2 separate regions of the Homo sapiens genome follow, and region 1 is linked to region 2. The links are contacts of gene promoters, found by promoter capture Hi-C in blood cells and fetal thymus (Javierre and others, 2016). All regions are on one chromosome and are shown on one strand. Each heading gives the region's core, a stretch centred on a gene start or on the middle of the fragment in contact. The rest is flanking DNA. Distances are from core to core; before and after follow the strand shown. Region 1 overlaps LINC00265 (long intergenic non-protein coding RNA 265). Region 2 holds the start of YAE1-DT (YAE1 divergent transcript).

What was found. The method cuts DNA at HindIII sites, captures the fragments that hold promoters and counts their contacts. A CHiCAGO score of 5 or more calls a contact.
Region 1: a fragment that was not itself captured here is called in contact with the fragment with the promoter of YAE1-DT in region 2 in 13 of 17 cell types (activated CD4 T cells, total CD8 T cells, megakaryocytes and 10 more); the score reaches 11.2 in activated CD4 T cells.

What each region holds. Positions count from the first base shown.
Region 1 is chr7:39,754,430-39,757,938 of GRCh38, reverse strand. The region is part of intron 1 of LINC00265 (long intergenic non-protein coding RNA 265); the gene reads right to left. Among named protein-coding and RNA genes, the nearest start is that of LINC00265, 23 kb to the right of the region's middle. RefSeq lists an enhancer at 3,119-3,509. The HindIII fragment of the contact is 3,115 bases long and covers 1-2,943 here.
Region 2 is chr7:39,565,073-39,568,261 of GRCh38, reverse strand. YAE1-DT (YAE1 divergent transcript) reads left to right here and starts at 1,913. Exons shown (of 3, transcript NR_187579.1): 1 at 1,913-2,119. It overlaps YAE1 (YAE1 maturation factor of ABCE1), which reads right to left and starts at 1,858. Exons shown (of 3, transcript NM_020192.5): 1 at 1,715-1,858. The coding sequence starts at 1,843. It also overlaps the pseudogene TMX1P1. RefSeq lists an enhancer at 1,572-2,021. The HindIII fragment of the contact is 5,827 bases long and covers 1,145-3,189 here.

The DNA of each region.
Region 1 (3,509 bases), core at 137-2,636, 190 kb before region 2:
CACGGGACAGTGTGGAAGATCAGTCAGTATGGCAGAAGAAATTATAGGAATAGAAAGAAGCAAACCTTGTTGGAAGGCCAGGAAGTTTGGCATAACTTCAGATAGTTTGGCTGAAGGCAGCCAAATCCTCTTTTCAGGAGCCAGAGAGCTTAGGGCGCAGATACATAGGAATGTGGAGAAGTTTATCTAAAGAGCTTGTTTACTCATGTGGTCCTACAACTAACATTTGATCACTCAAGGGCGGGATAGCTCTCCTGGGGTGGGGGCGACCAGATTAATTACCCACAGGTGTGTTGACTCAAAGCCTTTGTCATTAAAACTGTGCCAAATAAATGCCCACAGGGACAGCTAATTGGGGCTGTGGCTGCTGATTCTTTACACCACCTTCCTTGGTGTCTGTGAGCAGCTCGGATCCCTAGAGGCACTTTCACTGAATATCGGTGTCTGGGTACATTATTCATCCATCATGCGAGCTGGGGCCTGCAGGACAGACCCTCCACAGGATGGTCTTTCCAATTTTCCATCTTTTGTAATTTCTTTGAAATATCTGGCCAACTGTTAACAACAAAATGAAGTTTTAACATTCCCCATCCAAGAGGATCCTCAGGATCTAGATCAGCATACTGTCTCATTTGTTCCTTCGATCTGTCTAAAAATTCTATAGGCCCTTCATCTTGCCCATGCTGTATATCAAATGCTCGGGTAAGGTTCTGGATTTGGGGTACTGATTCTTTAATCCCTTTTATTATCATTTCCCTAAGGTCTTGCATATGTAGTGGGCTGCATTGTTATTTTCCCACTGGGGGTCTTTGGTGGGGAATTTTTGATCTGCTGCAGGAACGTTTTGGCCAGGAGGGTGTTCACATTATCAGACCACCATAGCAGCTCTACGGATCATGCTTCTTTCTTCCCCTGAGAAGAGGATGCCTAGGATGAACATTAGCTCAGTCCAAGTATTAACTCAAAAGAATGCAACCTTTGTCTCTCACCTATCTGTGACCTGGAAGCCACATCCTACTTCCAGTTTTCCTCCCTTTGCTTTGAGTTGTCCTGCCTTTCCAGATCGAACCAATGTACTTCTTACATATATTGACTGATGTTTCATGTCTCCCTAAAATGTACAAAACCAAGCTGTGCCCCGACTACCTTGGGCACATGTCATCAGGACTTCCTGAGGCTGTGTCATGGGTGCATCCTCAACCTTGGCAAAATAAACTTTCTAAATTAACTGAGACCTATCTCAGATTTTCTGGGTTTACAACATAATAAAGATTTATGGAAGAGTTTTGGGAACAGTATAAAGAATTGCTATATACCCTTTACTCAAGTTCCCCAGTTATTAAATTTTTAGCCCGTTTGCTTTGTCATTCTTTCTCTTGCCCTCCTACTTTCTATATCTATTATCTGGTGTGTGTGTGTGTGTGTGTGTGTGTGTGTGTGTGTGTGTGTGTGTAATGTAATTGTTCCTGAACCATGGGCAAATAAGTTGCAGATGTGATGACCCTACATGTCTAAATACTTCAGTGTTACCTAAAATAAGAACATTAACCACAATAAAAATTATCAAACTCAAGATATTAACACTGATACAATAATATCAACTAATCTACAGATCTTAAATTTCACCCATTTTCCTGATAATATCTTTTATAGGAAAAGAAAACCACAGATTATTAATTGCATTCTATTATCATTTCTCTTTAGAGACTGCTGGATTCCCCTCCATAAGGTTATAACATTTGGCATTTCCCACCAACAATTAAGTTTTTAATACTCTGGGTTTAATTTGTGTCATGCATTTTTTCCCTGAACCAATGACTGTCATCTGGGGAAAGAGGCTGTGCTGGTGAGCTTAGCCTCACTCACTTTCTACTCCCTAGGAGGCTGTAGATGGATTCAGGTTCACCTGAAGCAAGTGGGCTCAGACAGGGAGGGTGATTCCCCAAAGCAAAATTGGGGTACTATTTCTACAGAATAGAGCTGAGTGAAAACCACCACCACCAATATCCAATAAGCTGGTTCATGGATGCCCAACTTGCATCTATACAACAAAACAACAGATGCCTCTGATACTTGGCTAAAGAGAGACAGTGAAATTGGAACTAGAGCACAGGTAGAGTCCAATCTAATTCTTTCATTTTCATGCAGTAAATATTTTAGTTTCTTTTTTTTTTAATTCATAGCACGACTTTTTTTTTTTCTTTTGAAGCAGGGTCTCACTCTGTTGCCCAGCAGGCTGGAGTGCAGTGGTGAGATCATGGCTCACTGTAGCCTCAACTTCCCCAGGTTCACATGATCCTCCCACCTCAGCCTCCCTAGTAGCTGGGACTACAAGCATGCACCAGCATGCCCAGCTAATTTTTTTGTATTTTTTGTAGAGTTGGGGTTTTGCCATGTTGCTCTGGCTGGTCTTGAACTGCTGGGCTCAAGTGATCCTCCCACCTCGGCCTCCCAAAGTGCTGAAATTATAGGCATGACCCACTGCACTCAGCCATAGCACAACTCTTAAGAGAAAGATTTCAGTCTATCTACTGCCTGTCATTTTTTGGTTTTTAATTTAGTTAATTCTCACAGCAGCTCTAGGTAGCAGGAAACTGTACATTTATCCCACTTCTGAAAAGTCTGTACTAAGGCAGACACTTGAAATAATTCTACTAAATGTGCTCAGCTAAATAAAATAAACTTAAACCCAGGTTTTTGTTCCAAACAATAGGTTTTGTGAAATTGTGATCTTTCTAGAAGAACTTAGATATGATTTTTCCTCTCAGTTTCTCTTTTTAAAAAAATCTTAAGAATTTTCATTGTTAGCATGTTTATTTTTCTGCCTTTTCCAATGAGAGAGTTTCCATCTTTCTCAGAAACTGGAGGGCTCTAGTGGAGAGTGATGATGTGTCATCGTTTCACATTTCCTCTCACGCTCGTTTTTCTCCTGGTTGTAAAGCTTCTAAATGATTGATTGCCATCTTAACAGATTTGAGGCCAGTCAGGGTCTCCTGCTCTCAGCACTGTGTTCTGGGGCAGTTTGTTTAAGCCCAGGAGTATTAATGCTCCCAGATAAGTCTGCACCAGGACAAACTGAGTTCTTATATTAGATCCAAAGTGTATTTGAGAAAGCATTCACTGAACCTAAGTGCTCAGTGTACTTTGAAGCACACGTTTGTTTCCCTTAGTCATTAAGCCTCAAAAAGTCCTACCATTCCTTGAGGCAGGAATGCACTCTTTTTAAATTTTCTATTCAGCAGAATGAGAAATGTCTAAAAATAGAAATCCCACTTAATGATTTAAGTCTGTCTCCATCCTTACTCAACAACTAGGCAAATATTAAACAAAAAGAGCCCCAGTGCTGGCCTGCCGGCAGCTTTCCCTTCTGTGAGTTGAAACTGGGAAAGCGCAGGGAGGTATTGAAGTACAAGGGGAGGTGGAATGAGCATTGGTGGTGGAGGCAGTGAGAGGTGACAGCATGCTGGCAGCCCTCGCTCGCTCTCGGTGCCTCCTCCGCCTCGGGGCCC
Region 2 (3,189 bases), core at 664-3,163:
TATTTATTATTATCATTATTTTTTGAGATGGAGTCGCGCTCTGTCACCCAGGCTGGAGTGCAGTGGCATGACCTCAGCTCACTGCAACCTCTGCCTCCCGGATTCAAGTGATTCTTCTGCCTCAGCCTCCCAAGTAGCTGGGACTATAGGTGCACGCCACTATACCCGGCTAATTTTTGTATTTTTAGTAGAGATGGGGTTTCGCCACACATTTTTATATTTTAAGATACAAACTTCATATTTTCCTGTTCTTTCCTAACTGCTAATATTGTGTGGTATCTTACAGGTAGAAATCAACAGGATGGTACACTTAGTGTATTTTTACTCCTTAAAGAGCATACTCCTTAAAGGGCATACATAGTTTTCACCTTACAAGAAGGGGGAAAACCATAAATACAATGAATCAACTGACCATTATGTAGTAGACAATTTCTGTAATGTCCCCTTCTTTCTAGGCTCTGCGGATAGGAGAATCCACTAGACTTATAGTAGCATAATGTACAAGTTTTCTTTAAAGGTCTCTCCTTTAGAATATAAAATATTATACCATTGAAGAGTTTGGATGTGTAACCTGTGATGCCTTAGAAAAATATCCTAAGCACAAAATAAACTTTTCTAATCACTTCAAAAGATTAAAAAAACCAAAAAACAAAAAACAAAACCCAGCATTAGCAATGTCTTCACAAAAAGGATATATGGAAAATTACACATCTGGGCTCTTGCCAACTGATTGGAATGGTGTGGGTGGGTGAGGAGACAGGGCAAAGCAGAGAGAGGAAATTGTTTAAAAAAAAAAGGATGATGAGAAGTCTGGTTTCAGAAATTTTGCATAATACCTAAATTCAACTAACCTGCAAAAGCTCTGTGGGTAGTGATTTCGTTCTGCATCTCTCACGGTGCCACAGCATTTAAAAGATGCTCAATACTTATTAGTGTGGCCCCAGTCTCACATAAAGCATTTTTGTAATTGACAACATGGTTTTTGGGCTAAGCAAATACCACTCTACTGAAATATTAAACAGGGCAGATTCCCAACTGCAGCTTTAGCGGCAATTTAATGGTTGGCAAATATATTAAGTGGATGTGGACCTCACTATTTGGTCCTCACCCAGAAATACTGTAGGCTGCACACAGAAATTAAGCTTAGTTTCAATGAATAGTGAGACAAATTAGAGATGAAAAAGTTACATCTAACAAATAAAAAAGAAACCAACTTTAATATTCCCTTACCTAGACACCAGTATTCCACATTAGCTTTCCCTTATTGTCCTCTGACAGCATGCTTTAGTTCATCTTTTCAATATGTCTTGATTAACACTACTCCTTAACTTTAGGCTCCCTACCCATTCAAGCCACCCATATAAACTGCGTACACGTCCTTTGACAGCCATAATAAGTATAGTGTATGTTTCTCTCCAGCTCCTTTCCCTGTGATCCTCAACAAACTGCAAACTGTTCAAAGTCTACACATAGTTAATTTTGGTCGGTCCTCAGTTTCTAACGCATCCCGTAGGCGCTCAAAGAATGCGTCTTGTTGTTTTACACGCTTTCAAGTAACCATCGAGAAATCCTAGCAAGACGCGGGTCGGACCGGGTCCCTAGGGATAAAGAGAGCAGCGCCGGGCCAGGCTGGGGCCACTCTGGACCCAGCTTCTTCACAACTCCGCGCCTCTTCCCACAACCCAGCACCCCGCGCCGTCCACACCACGTTTACTTTGACTCGTCTTTGCATGTTACTCTGCCATTCCCGCTGCGCCAGGAGCGACTCGTCTGCTTCTTCGTCAAACACGTCCCCTTTGTCTCCAGGGCCCTGGATCAAGGAGGCTGCTTGAACCCACGACATCACCGAGGCAATTACGGGGTCGCAGGCCACCGGAAGCGCCAACAACTCCTTCCGGTCCGAAGGCGGGGCGAAGACGGCGAGTGGAGGCTCGGGAGGGGCTGCGTGTGCGCGGAGGCGGGCTGTGGCCCGTGGCCGCCGCCGGAGCCTTTCGCTTGCGGTGATTTTGGGCTCCCTCGGTTGGCAGTGTTGATGTGTGCCTGTGAGTTGTGAGCGAGGCAGATTTCCTCGCGTGGCCGGCACGACCTTCACCTTTGCAGAAGGCAACCGGGACCCTCAGTGAGACACCTTCCATTTCCACCGTAGTCTTACCATGGTCTGGGTTTTACATTCGCGCGCTTTGGTAAACTATTAAAGGTAGTAAAGTCGATGGGCGATTACCACCCAAATACTTTGTCTCTTTTGGAATCTCCTCTGCATTTAAAGGATTTGACAAGCCGACATTTTAAACTGTTAGGATTGTGGAGTAAAGGAAAATAGGATCGAAAAGCGAGGTACTGTAGCCAATTTGAGATTAGTAAGAAATATAGAGTACATTTGTAAAGCCAATATATTTTTTCATTGATTCACGATATCCTTCTGCCTCCCATTCCTGTTCATATGCCCTAAAGTAAACAGTTGGTTTGGTAAGGGTGGGGACTTGTGTCAACACCAGGACAGTTCTGACACATAGTAAATGCTGAACTCTATTTTGGTGAATGAATGAATACCTGTAGTATTCCTGTTTTGCCCTTTGCCTGGGTAAAATGAGTCATGTGATTATGATTTATTTATCTAACAATTTATTGAACACCTACCTTGTGTCAGGTACCATTCCAGGCTTTGGGATACATCAATGAACAGACGGAAGTTCCCAACCCTTGTCGACTTTATAGTCATGTAAAATTGACAGGATAAACAATAAGCAATATATAAGTAGCATAAGGTTTGTTAGAAGATCATAAATAAATGCTATGAAAAAAATTTTTAAATAAGCACAGTAAGAACCATAAGTGTGTGGGAGTGGGTGGTTGGTTCATGTTACAATTTTAAATCTCCAGAGAGAATTTGGCATCCCACAAATAAAAAATATATAAACTACAAATATGTATATTTTATTAATGTAAATATATTAAGATATATGTATATATCTTTATTAGGAACAAAATGGTAGTAAGCAATAAAGATAACAATAAAATAGAAAACCTCAAAACTTGAATAAGTAAGTCCAATTCTTTTTTGTATTATTTGAAAACACCAATAAGATAGATAATCCTGTCATGACCCAGATTTTTAAAGAGAACAAAATTATACAAGAATGAGAAATGAGATAACCACTGATGCAGAAGGAGATTAAAATATTAATTACC